Linked DNA regions of Homo sapiens: region 1 is linked to region 2. Evidence: promoter capture Hi-C in 16 types of primary human blood cells and fetal thymus (Javierre and others, 2016). All regions are on one chromosome and are shown on one strand. Each heading gives the region's core, a stretch centred on a gene start or on the middle of the fragment in contact. The rest is flanking DNA. Distances are from core to core; before and after follow the strand shown.

Region 1 (6,112 bases), core at 1,896-4,395, 1.2 Mb after region 2:
GAGGGAAACGAAGAGAGAAAGGAGAGGGTGGAAGAAAGGAAAAATGGAGGGAGAGGAAGGGGAGAAAATGAAGGAGGGAGGGAGGAAAGCAGCCTTCTCTGGTGCTGAGATCAGAGGGATCTCAGCCGGGATCTGGCTGAGTGCGGCACCGAGTTCAGGGCCCAGTGACTGAGAAGAGAAACCTGAAGGCCTCGAGCTGAGGAGCTGCCACGCGGGCGGCAGGCGGTGCCACTTTGCAGAAGCGCAAACTGAGGCCAGAGGGGCAGCGGATCTCAGCTGGGTCCCCACGCTCGGCAGGAGACCGGGTGCTCCCCGCGGGGCCTGTGAGCGGGCCGCCAGGGCTGGGCTGGGGGTGGCAGCGCCGAACCGGGAGCGCAGCGCAGGGTCCGGGTTCGCTGGGAGGCCGGCGGCGGCCGCGTGGCCACAGCGCCCCCTGGCGGCTACGGGAGTCCTGCACGCAGCGGCCGCGTCTCCACGCCTTCCTGGAGCAGAAGGTTGCCTGCCCGCTGCGTGGCCCCCGGGTTCCCAGACAGCCCGCCCCGTCCCTAGCGCTCCGAAATGGCTGCCACCTGGCGTCTGGCCTGGGCAAACGAGGTATCCCATCTGTATGTATTTAAAAGCGGACAGCAGGGTGCCCGCTGCTGTCACCCCACCGCCTAAAGAGGATAGACACTTATCTTCCCCTAAATGTGTAATTAGCAATTCCAGTGTGACCCCTCTCCTCATCGGACTTTAGTTCAAACTCAGGCAGCGGAAGCCATGTCCTTTTTCTGTGTGAAATTTAGGATTCCAAAAGGACAGCCCCTGCCGTCTGCACTGCCCACCCTAGTAACAGCTCACACCTTCCCATCCTGGCTTCCCTGGATCTAAGCACTTCTCAGGCGTTAGTCCTCACCTCAGACCGATTATTATCCCCTCCTGGGCGAGGTAACTGAGACACAGAGAGAGATTAAGGAACTCACCCAAAACCACACAGGTAGAGGGGAAGCTAGGATTTTAACCCAGGCAGCCTTGATTGCAAAAGAGAAAAGGGGAGAAAAGGAATGAGAGGGGGCAGAAAGAGAAAATTTACTTCTAAGACAAGGCAGTGCTGGAGCGCGTCTGCCTCCATTTTGTGTGAGGGGTCTAGGAAGCCTTATTAGAAGTCTCCCAGCTCCTTTCCAGAGCCTGGCATCAGGATGAGGCAGTGAGGCGGGGAGCCCCAGACTGGGCTCACACACAGGGAGCTGCCCAGGCCAAGGTTTGGGCAGCTGAATGGAGGGAGAGGAGTTCTGCCCGCCCCACCCCATCCCATGCACCCAGGCCTCTCTATCTCTGCTGGCCTGGGGATGGGTCCACCAGGGTAGAGGTAAGCAGGTTTTGGAGAAGAATGCATCATGGAGCTTATGCCTGTCTAGGTGACTTCTCCAAGCCTCAGAAGATGCCCGTGGCACAGTGACTCACTGTGGCTTCAGATTCAGCTCTGGCCCTCCCTTCTCTCGAGCCCCACCCTTGGAAGAAATGCAAGGACAGAAACTTCACTGAACTCCTGATTTTTGTGCCTGGCCCCAAAGACAAGGGGGCTAGGGTCTGTGCATTCCAGAGACTTCCTCTTAGCTGAGATCTGAAATCCCCAAGTTTTCCAGTCAAGCTGTTGTAAACCCGTCCAGATCTCTGCGCACCTCCTCCCGGTGGCCTGCAGACTGCAGAGCTGAGCCCAGAGGCCCAGTTCAGTGGGCAGGCTACAGGGGAGGGAGGGGAACCAGAGCCAGAAGGAGAGGGGCGTCTCTGAGACTGGGCTCCCACATTCACCTGGAATCATCTTTGAAGTGGAAAGATTAACACGGGATTCAGTTTCCCCTTTGTGAATGAGTGGTGTTGGAAACTACACAGAGATTCCTCTGTGCCGGTCAGGCCCTGCAACCCCAGGACCAAGAGAGGGATGAATCTTGATAAAACCTTGGGATGGAGAAAGGCAAGAAGGGTGCCATTCACACACACCCCATCAGTCTCATTGTTCCCTGCCATTACCACTACCCTGGAGAAGGACACCAAACAGCTGCTTATTAAAACACATTACCTGAGGCCAGGCTTGGTGACTCACATGTCCAATCCATGACAGGCAGGTTGCTTGAGGCCAGGAGTTCGAGACCAGCCTGGCCAACACGGCAAAACCTCATCTCTACTAAAAATACAAAAATTAGCCGGACGTGGTGGTGCATGCCTGTAGTCCCAGCTTTCTGGGAGGCTTAGGCATGAGAATTGCTTCAACCCGGGAGGCGGAGGTTGCAGTGAGCCAACATGGTGCTACTGCATTCCAGCCTGGGTGATAAAGCAAGACTCTGTCTCAAAAATAAAAATAAAAATAAACACATTACCTGAGCCGCTGAATGTGTCAACACTCAGATGGACTCGCTCTTTCTTTGTAAATGGCTGGACCTTGGTGCAAGGCATGCTGGGAACTTGGATCTGTGGGGACGGGGGTCTGGGGAGCCCCTGACACCTTCCTGGAACAGGCCATGCTCCTCCCACCAGCCTCAGGCCCTTTGCATGTGTGGCTCGCTCTGCCTCGACTGCTCTCCCCCTACCCCTTTCACCCATGACACAATGAGTCTTTCTTCAGCAGCAAGAAAAATGGTTTCTTCTCCAGGAAGCTTTTCCCGAGCCTAGTGTAAAGCTCTAAGGCAGCAGGGGTCAGGTGGCTTATGTGGGGTTCCCAGAAGGCACAGCCTGAGATAAGACTGGAGTGCAGGTTGTTTATTTGGGAGAGGTTCCCAGACAGCAAGAGTGAAGGATTGAGGGAAAATGGCATAGGGAGGAGTAAGATCATTAAAAGTTGTGTTGCGGTCATCAATGCTTTGGGCAACAGAGGCTCAGTGCAGCTGGGACCTCCTGACAAGCAGCATGAAGTCCCCAGAATCAGTCCCCTAAAGGCCAAGAGCCTGGAGCATTCATCCACCAGCTCCCAGCCCTCATTGGCTGAGAGCTTCCCCGGACAAGATTCATGCCCTGTATTGACTGCATTTTCTTATTTTCTGTATTCCTGATGCTCCGGCATTTGGGGCCTTGATCCTGGAGAGACTGCCCCTCCCAGAGCTAGCTAATTCCTAGAGACAGCAAAGGACTCCCCTGTGACTGCACCTTTGATGTACAAAGCAATCGTTCCAGAGCCCACACCCCCAACCGTCCAACTGCCAAGTCAATATTCTCTCTGCCCTAAATCACTACAGGGCCAAGAACCAGACAACTAGGAATGACCTTGAAAGCCCAGAGCCCTCCACAGTGATTCACACTATCCATCCTAAGCTAACTCAGTCTACCTACCCTGCCTTGCCCACACCTTCCCAAGAAATCCTCAACAAAGGCTCTGAGCCTTGCTCTCCCCTCTCCCTCTTCTGCCTTCTGACCCTGGCGCTTCCCATGTGTTCCAGGTAGCAGTGTGCAGTGCCTCCCATTTCTAGAGTACTTAGTATAAACTTCTTCCTTTATGACAATCATCTCCCTGCCTGCGTGTCTGACCATACTGATTAAAACAAATCCTGGGTACATTTTAACTCGTGCCTTCACACCGCCAGGCTTGCATGGGCTAAGAGTGTTCCCACAACGCTGGAGAAGACCCTGAGGCAGAAAACCAACAGGCATCTGTCCCATACATGAAGTGGATGCTGTAAGAGCAAGGCAAGCTTTCTGAGCTGTCAGGGAAACGGCCACCGGCCACTGTCGCTGGCACTGAAATCACAGCTGGCCAAGGAATGTGATGAGCAGGGTGCCAGAGGTGTCTGCTGCATCCCATGTGCTTGTTTGCTTGTTTTTCTCACCATTGATCCCCCAGTGCCTAGCACAGTACTGGCATGGTGTGGGGACTTAGTCATTACCTGCTGAACTCATGAATTGAATTAGTGAGTGACTGAGTGAGTGAACCTTGTAAGCCCCAAAGGAGAATGACTAACAGTCCAATAGAAGACATTCAAAGGTTCCCAGCCAGTGAGGTCCAGTGGTCAAGTTTATCCCAGCAATAACCCAGCTAATAGCACCCTCCAGTGGCCAAGGTCCCAGGGCTGGTCAAAGCTAGGTCAGGTGGCGGAGCTGTCAGCCCAGCAAGGAAACTGAGGCAGAAAACTAAAGGAGTTCATGGGATGTTAAGCCTTCACTCCTGCAATGGCTTGCATTTAAACAAGACTCCTTACAGGCCCCAGGGCAAGATCAGGTATGGGCGGGCGTAGTGAACACGAAGAAGCCCAGAGATTTACAATGGGCAGGACCAGGGTAACAAATCCAAACAGAAAAATAGAATCCATAAACCTCTTCTCCTAGGCTTCAGAAGGTTCCAGATTCATCTCCCTGAATGGCCACCACAGAGAAGTGGCACAAGAGTGTCACACCTAGGGTGCAAAGGACTGCCTGCTATCCATCATAATCATAAATGTGTATACTGTCATAAACTTCCAGAAGATGGCAGTAAAGAGACTCATGCTAAGAAAATCAGTACATTACAATAATTTTCCATATATGGAAGTGTCTTGAGAAAGGGAGAGGTTTTGCCTAATCTGTTTAAATGTGCTGTGTGACCTGGTGAGCAGATTTTTTTCCCTTCCTCAGTGAGTTTTGCCCAGGCTCAGAAACCCCGCAGGCCCCTAGAGCATAAACCAAGGGAAAGCAAAAGTCAACAGACATACAGGCAAGGAAGCGGGGGCAGGTGGCGGGGCAAGGCTGGTTTCCTCTGCGTCTCCTTGGTTGCATCTCTAGCCTCATTCGTGCAATAAACACTTGCTGAACTCTGTTGGGCACATTGGGGGTGGGTGAGGGACACATATGACCAAGATTGGGTCCTTTTGCTCAGTGTCATGGAAAAAAGACTGATATGGTTTGGATCTGTGTCCCTGGCCAAAGTTCATGTCAAATTGTAATCCCCTGTGTTGGAGGCGGGGTCTGGTGGGAGGTGACTGCATCATGGTAGTGGGTTTCTCATGAATGGTGCAGCACCACCCTCTTGGTGCGGTTCTCATGATAGTAAGTGAGTTCTCATGAGATCTGGTTATTTAAGTGTGTGGCACCTCCCCTTTCACTGTCTCTCTCTCTTGCTCCTGCCCCTGCTATGTAGGACACCTGCTCCCCCTTTGCCTTCTGCCATGATTGGAAGCTTCCTGAGGCCTCCTCAAAAGCAGAAGCCACTATGCTTCCTGTAGAGTCTGCAGAACCATAAGCCAATTAAAACTCTTTTCTTTATAAACTACCCAGTCTCAGGTATTTTACCAACTTTGCTGTTAGGCAGACCTGGGTTCAAATCCAGCTTCTACAGCTCAGAACATAGAAAGTCACATACCCTCCCCAGCCCTCAGGCTCCTCATCTGCATAATGGGGATAACACCACCTGCTTTACAAGATGTAAAAAAGACCACGTGAGTAAAGTGCCTGGTGCAGAGACTGAAACAGACGGAGCTGGAGTTGGAAAAGAATTGCTATTTCCTTCTTCCTCCCTTGATATCATTGGAACCTCCTTCTTTAGAGGTTACAATCCAGCTGCTGAAGCAGCATATATTTGGTTGACTTTTGACTAAAGAAAAATACTGCCACTATTTTATGATGTCACAAAGTGGTAAGGGATTTGATAAGAGATTCCTGGGCCCAGTATAATGTGGCACAACCATGAGAAAACCTCCCATACCAGAACTACTCCCTCGGGTTGAAAACCAAACATTGACTTGTGCAGCCAATGTTCTGGCTTGTCTGGGGGCTGCCTGAGAGACTGACTTCTGTCTTGCCTGACTCAGAGCACAGACAGGAATGGCAGCACAGAAGCCACTGGAAACAGGCAAGCTCCAAGGAACGTTACAGCTGCAGAGATTATGCAGTTCCACAGGAAGACAGCAGGAGGAGCAAGAGATTATGTCTCTTGAGAAGAAATAGACTAGGGAATTCGAGACGGTTAAACAGGCATGCACAAGGCCAGAGAAGACACATCCCCAGAAAAGATTTGAGAGGTCCCAGAACCTTTTGCCAGGCTGATTGGTAAAAGTCTCCCCGTGCGTGAGGCCAATTCATAAAGACTGGGAGAGGTGGTTGTTTTTTCAAATGCCAAAATCTCAACAAAAGATCACAAGGCATACAAATAAACAGGTAAACATGGCCCAAT
Region 2 (6,670 bases), core at 3,485-5,984:
TTTCTTTAATGGAGTTTTCCTCTTAATTATAATATAGCATTAGTTTCTTTTTGCATTCTCCTCCTGAACTTTCATGACACTATCAAACAGGAGCAAATATAAATTTGTGTAGCCTGGAATATGCAATTTAATCATAAGCCATAATTTCCATATCGCTGAGAAGAAAAAAAATCAAATGATTATACTCCAGTGCACGAGGAACAATCTTGAATTAAATTTTACTCTCTGCTAAAGTTAGGTTTTTCACAACAATATCAAGAATGGTTTAAAAGAAACAGTAAAACATTTACTGCTATATTAAAATTCCATGCCCCAAAGTGTTTACCGAAGATCAAACTGCTATTCCTTTTTGCAAATTAGAAGTGTCTTGCAGACATCTTCAAAACCTCATGAAAGAACGGGCAATGGTGTCACGGTAGTCTCACTGATATTTTTCTTCTTTATCCATTCCCTTCCACTTGGAGTCAGAAATGATGCTCTTTTTGCCAGAAAAAAATCCAGAAAATCCTCCCAGATCACTGTCTCAGTGAGAGCTGACCTTGTTTATCCTGCAGCCCAGCCCCCACCCCGGCTGCTGCTCAATGTCAAGTTACAGGATTTCCCAACTTTCTAGTAAACTCCAAGGTGGGAAGAAGATGCTGAAGGTAACAGGATCCACCCACTAGAGAGATGCTAATCCTGACCAACTGCTCGAGCAGTAGCTTGAACCACAGCTAGATTGAATTCGGTCTCTCCTGAGAGGGCCAGACAAGGCTTGTAAGTAACAAAACCGCTTTTCATGATGCCCTCAAAAGCAGATGGGCTCCATGCAGACAGTTGGAGAAGGGTGCCATTGCCCTCTAGTGGCCAGAAGTGCAATCTTCCGCGAAGGAGTCCATTTCCAGAGTTGTACAAGGCTCTCAATGTCAGGGTAAAATTATAGCAGAAAGATGTCTAATTATGCTCCTCGAGTGTTTTCTTTAGTCCTTCCTGCTCATAGGGGAGGCTGCGGATGGCTATCACAGGAATCCTGATGGAACAGCTCATTTTTAACTCCTACCAGTGCACCAGGATGTGTCCAATTTTCTCCAACTTTATTTTTCTTTTTCTTTAGCAGACCTGTTGATGTTTTTCCCCCTAATCAATTAAATCACAAATTTATATAGACCAACTACTTTTATATATTTCAGAGGCAATAACTTTAAATTAAAAAGGCTGAAAACTCACAATTCTTGGTAAGTGCAGAATAGGGATTCTTGACAAATTAGGTAACTTTTTATGAAACAGCAGCCAATTCCATAAGGGAGAAAATCATCCCAAACACATTTCAATCCCTTAAATCATTGGCTAGTGAATTTATACAGTGCTCAAATTTTCTAGGAAAAAAAAACTTGAAAGTTCATAGTCATTCTTCAAATTTGACAATTCAAGAAAAAAAGTTTGATACCTACTTTCAAACTCTATATATTCCACTGTTTTATTATTATTGAATGAGTAAGTATGCCTGTCATCAAAGTGAAAACATCAATATTGAAAGTAAATTCCAATGAAATTGTTATGTTTCTCCAACATCTACCTACATACATGTATTGAGAATGAAGGAAGACTAAAATCAGATTTGAAGATCTTGTTTAGATGGTTCTGAAAACAGATTTGAATATAAGAGATCAAAGTTTACCAACTTCATAAGTTACCACTTCATAAGTCACAGGCATTCACAGGCAAGGTTCCAGGACATGCTATGCTCCTGGGAGCGCAGTACTGGCATTGTAAATCAGACCACGAGGTCAATGTCATGGCGTTTCCCATATGAGGGTCCCCAAACCAGAATCTTTACAAAGCAGCCATGTAATTCTATTCAAAGGAGAAGAAAAACCATGAATTATGAAGACAAGTGCATTAAAAGAGCATGAAATTGATCCGTATTCCCCCAAATCATGGCGTGGCTCTCCAAGTCTGTCCCCTGCCCCCTCCTCCCACAAATAAACAATCAAACATGCACATCCACAGCCACCACTCTACAGAGGGAACATGAGTTCTAAGACATAAAAAAAATTGCGCCATAACTATTTTTTTTAAATTTTCAAATTAACAAAAGATTGCATCTTAATTGAAAATAGAATTTAGGTTTCTAGTAATTTTACTGTCTGGTGTTCTGATAAGAATGCTGAACGTAATGAAAGTTCTGAAGTGCTATCAAGATGGTCCACTGCTTCAGTTAGAACTATTTTAAAAGCTTATTTTCCTAGGCAGCAATAAGCAGCCATTTGAATAAATCTACATGTCTGGGGCTCGCCAGATTATCCAGTCTCAATCCTTCCAAGGCCTGCCTTCATTCCCCCTTTCCCAGGGGTGAGGAGGGTGGTTTATTCTTTCAAACAATGTCATAAAATGCCCAGTTTATGCAGACTCTGAAGTAACAACTAAAATGATAGTAATAATTTTTATTAATAATAGTGCATGCCTGCAAGACATTTTAATGTCTTAATTTACAATGTTTCAAAAGTAAGATGTAAAGATAATCCTTACTCAAGCAAAGTTTCCTGGCCTTTCAGATGCCTTTCCCTGGTCTCTACTGAAAAGCACTCACATTCCTTTTGTACTAGGCTGGATTTCAGTTTTTCACAGAGGTTCGAATTCCAGAGCCCACTGGCCAACTCTAAAACTTGGAATCAGAGATTACATTTAAGGAACTTCAGTAGCTGGAGCCTCAGAGTGCTTCTCGTATTGGCCACAACTCTGTCCCTTTGTTTTGTAACTTTTTTTCCTTTGTCCTATTGGAAGAAGACCAGGCTCCCTGCAGCTAGGGTTGGGCAGTTAATATTTCTGTTCTGGTGTCTGCACCTACGTATTTGTAGGAAAAACAATTCCAGGATTAACGAAAAGAAGGTCAGTCCCTTCTCTTCTCTGCCAACATATTAGGCTCTAGCGCTCAGAGCCCAGCCTGGCAAATGTGCTCATGCGATGCTACAGGATCCTCGCTCCTGAGAACACATCTGCATCCCCATCCCCAGGAAATCCAGACACCCCGCAAAACCATCGACGTCTGCTGCAAGCCCAAGTGATGAGGAAATTGATCCGTCCTCTAGCCAGATTAATTATGGTAGCCTCCCTGTGATTAAAACGAAAACTTACTGCCTCATATTAAACCGATAGCCATGATTAGAAGAAGAAAATAAGAAAAGATTTCAGAGCGATCGTAGCACGATTTCTTTAGGGGGAGACGAAGGGGGAAGACTTTAGTGAAATCTATACCCTCATACAGCCGGGTTTCAAGAACAACCCCCCACTCCCATCCCTTAGGGATAACCCGTCGTCAGGCAGGGATGGTATTAAATAATTAAAAGATGCGATTTCTTAATAGCAGTGTGATGGCCCATGAAATTCCTACTGCATTATCAGCAAAAGCAACAGGGCTTCTTCTAGCACCTAGAAAACCTTTCACCCGGGAGAGGCAGGCGCGGCGAGCCCCGGGCGAAAGCAGGGCCTCGGCAAAAAAACGGACAAGGAAGCCGGACCCGCAAGCCTCCCCCGACCCCACTTTCTCTGGGGACTCCGCTTCACAGCGTGAGGCGGGCCCTCCTACAGTTCCTCTGGGTTGGGGAGGGGGGAGAAGGGAGCTCTCCTCGCCGTCCTCCCCATCTGGCCAGCTTCTCAGTGCTTCCCACCTCCCGGCTCGCGTTCCGGGGCAGAGCGCAGGGAGGGAGGCCGTGCGTGCCGGGAGCTAGAGAGGCTTGGCGCGCTCCGAGAAGCGGCGCAGGTTTCGGGAAGGTGTGGTTCTCAAAGTTAACGTTGACCCTGGCAGCTTTCGCCAATCCCAAGCCAGAGGCGAGCCCGAGTCTGGGCCGCTCATGGACCTACTCCTGCGCTGGTGGGAGCTTACAAACGGGCGCCAGAGCTCCCGCAGAGACTCGGGCTGGAGGGCTGTAGCGCACCGCAGCCTGCTGCCCCAGAACCACAGTCGGCGGCCCCAAACCCACGCTATTAAAGTGCGGGCAATCTCCTTCCGGAGCTGGGGTCTTTCCGTTTTCCCGGGCTTACCCGGCAGTCTCGACTGCAGGGACTAAGCCCCGGGGAGCTTTCGGCAGGGATCCGGGAGGATGGAGTAAGAACCCCGCAGAGCGCGGTCATGTCGCCGCTTTGGGGAAGCGGCGCAGGGCTGGCGGGCACCGCGCCGTGGGCGACTTTCCCCAGAGATATGACCGGGGACAGTCGGCGTGTCCGGAGGTCTGCTCTGCAGTCTCTTGCCCCAGCCAGGTACAAACCCCCTCTGCTGTGGCCTCGGCGCAGACCCCACAGGAGGCCGGAGCCAGGGAGAGTCGTGGAGCGCACATCTGAAGCCTCCGTCCCCTGCTTTGCCCGCGCCCACAGCTGGCTCCCTTCTCCCTTTCTGATTTTTAAACAAATCTCTCCCTCCCTTTTGCTTTGCGTTAGTGAAGCCTTCTCGACTCAGATACCACCGTCCCCCTCACCACCCCGCCCCGCCAAGACATTCTCTTCCTGAGAAAATCCTGCCCCCCATTCCAAGAAGCCCCAACCAGGCGAGAGGAAGGGACTGGCGGCGCACCTCACCTGGGGCCCTTGAGGGTGGACGCAACCTCCGAGCCGCCAGTCCCTGGCGCAGGGCAAGCGCTGCGGTGTCAGTCCCGGCCCCAGTCCCGGTCCCATTCACAAGTCAGCGGCGGCTGCGAGCGGCCCCCGCGGCATCTGCTCCTCGGCCCGCGACGCTCCCCTCAGCTGGCGGCGGCCGCGGAATGAGCCGCCGAGCGCGCTAGTGGCAGGAATGAGAAACCGGGGGGAGGTGGCGGGCGGGCAGGCGGGTGCGGGGCGGGGGGGGCGGGAGGAGGGAGGCTGCCGCTGTGAGGGAAGGAAAGGGCGGGGGCTGAGAGAAGCCGAGGCTGCGAGAGGCAGCGAGATGGGCCTCGCAGAGGCTGCGGGGGCCGACCCCGTCCGCGCCCCTCCCCCCAGGGGCCCAGAGATGCTAACCCCTGGATTCGTGGCCGCCCCTCCCGCCCCGTGGCGCGGCGCTCCGACTCCCTCAGGGCTCAGATGGAGTCTGGAGCGACTGAAGTTGGGCTCCAGGGACGCACAGCCAATCAGGGAGGGCGGCGGAGGGAAGCTGGAGAGGGGTTGGGAGCCCCCATTTTCCTCCTTCCCCCAAATCCGCTCCAGCTGGCCAGGCTGGGCTCTCGCCTGGCGGGCCGGGATGGTGGTTGGGGGAAGGTATCGTCCAAGTGAGGGAAGCAATTGGGAATTCGGGAGCGCGTTCTATTCTTTCTCACTCCACCACCCCACCTTCCAAAAATCCCTCAACGTTGGCGGCTCCTGCCCAGCCCCCACCCCTCTCAATCTCCCATCCCTTGCAAACTCTTCTGGTGGCTCTGGTGGTGAAGTCGGGCGGGGAGGGAGACTTAGGACTTGGGAAGAGCCCAGTCTCCGTTCTCTCTCAGCTCTCCTCTCGTCTAGTGCCCCCCACGCAACGCCTCGGAGAGGGGTGCGCGGGGAGCGCTTCGCCGGGGTCGGCCTCGCTCCAGCTTTTGGGAGGGTGCCTTGGCCCCTACCCCAGCCAGGTATCAGTGGCCCCCGCCGGTAGTGTCACTTGTTGCCACTCCCTCGCTACAGACCCGCCAGGGCCCGGTGGAGTGTGCGTTTCTACGGGAGAAAGGGCCTAATGGGGCGCAGCGCCGGAGTCCTAGCTCCTTCCTCCGCTGTTCCCCTCACTGACGACTCGCTACCGTGAGGGTTCCCCGGGCCTGCTTCCTGCCCTCCCTCCCCGAGTCGCCGGGAGAAAGGGCTGGCAGGGCCGGGGCTTAGGAATCACGCCAAGGACTGGGCGGGGCGCTCGCGGTACCGGGAACGGCGTGGGGATCCGCACACCCAGCAGGGAACAACCATGCCTGTGTGGGGACCCCTGGCTTGAACAAGTTTGCAGGGTGGGAGGTGGAGGCAAGAGAGGAGGCGGAGGAAGGTGGAGACGCCAGTGGGTGAAGGCTAAAAAGGAACCGCCTAGGGGGACGGGGATGAGGCTGGGAAAGGAGAAGAGATGGACCCGCGAAAAAGACGGGGAAGGAGGCTGCGGAGGGAAAGCTGGGCGCCACAGCCAAGCAGTTTGAAAGGGCTAGAGGGGAGGAGACGGGCCCAGGAGTTAACGGAAAAAGAGGCCGAAAACGGAAGAGAAAGCTTGGGATCCTGAGCGCATGGGGAAGGAACCCCAGTGCGGGGCTAAGGCAAGAGCGGCCGAGCCCTGCCCTCCAGCTCCTGGTCACCAGCCCGCGGGTCCCGAGCGCCCGCAGCCGCCCGGGTTTCCACACGGCTTGGGGAGACGCCCGCGGGGGCGGGTGCCGGCGAGGCTGCCCCGGGACCTACCCTCTTCGGCCTGCGCGCCCGCGTTTTTCTTGACGACTCCAGGATCCGGGTGGCGCTGCGTGCCTGCCCCCAGTCCGCGTCCTGCGCGGAGAGGATGCCTCTGTCACCCTCTGTGTGGACGTGGCCTTTGAACTCCTCATTCCTCCACTGCGGGGGAAGAGCTGTAAGTTTCCAGCTGCCCGGTTATCTTACTCCTCAGCCTTCCCCCCACCATAGGTGTCCAAGGTGATAGCCCCCTGGGTCTCCAGTAACCCCCCAACCTCGCACCACACTCTGCGCAAGGGACGCGCGAGGACATTGACTCCCGGTGCTTTCCTGTAGAGCG

Evidence for each region. The method cuts DNA at HindIII sites, captures the fragments that hold promoters and counts their contacts. A CHiCAGO score of 5 or more calls a contact.
Region 1: a contact is called between a fragment that was not itself captured here and the fragment with the promoter of CDH11 in region 2, in 3 of 17 cell types (endothelial precursors, M2 macrophages and M0 macrophages). The highest score is 8.7, in endothelial precursors.

The regions. Positions count from the first base shown.
Region 1 is chr16:66,270,173-66,276,284 of GRCh38, forward strand. No RefSeq gene overlaps it. Among named protein-coding and RNA genes, the nearest start is that of CDH5, 93 kb to the right of the region's middle. The HindIII fragment of the contact is 1,029 bases long and covers 2,632-3,660 here.
Region 2 is chr16:65,117,329-65,123,998 of GRCh38, forward strand. It overlaps CDH11 (cadherin 11), which reads right to left and starts at 4,735. Exons shown (of 13, transcript NM_001797.4): 1 at 4,552-4,735. The HindIII fragment of the contact is 3,944 bases long and covers 2,214-6,157 here.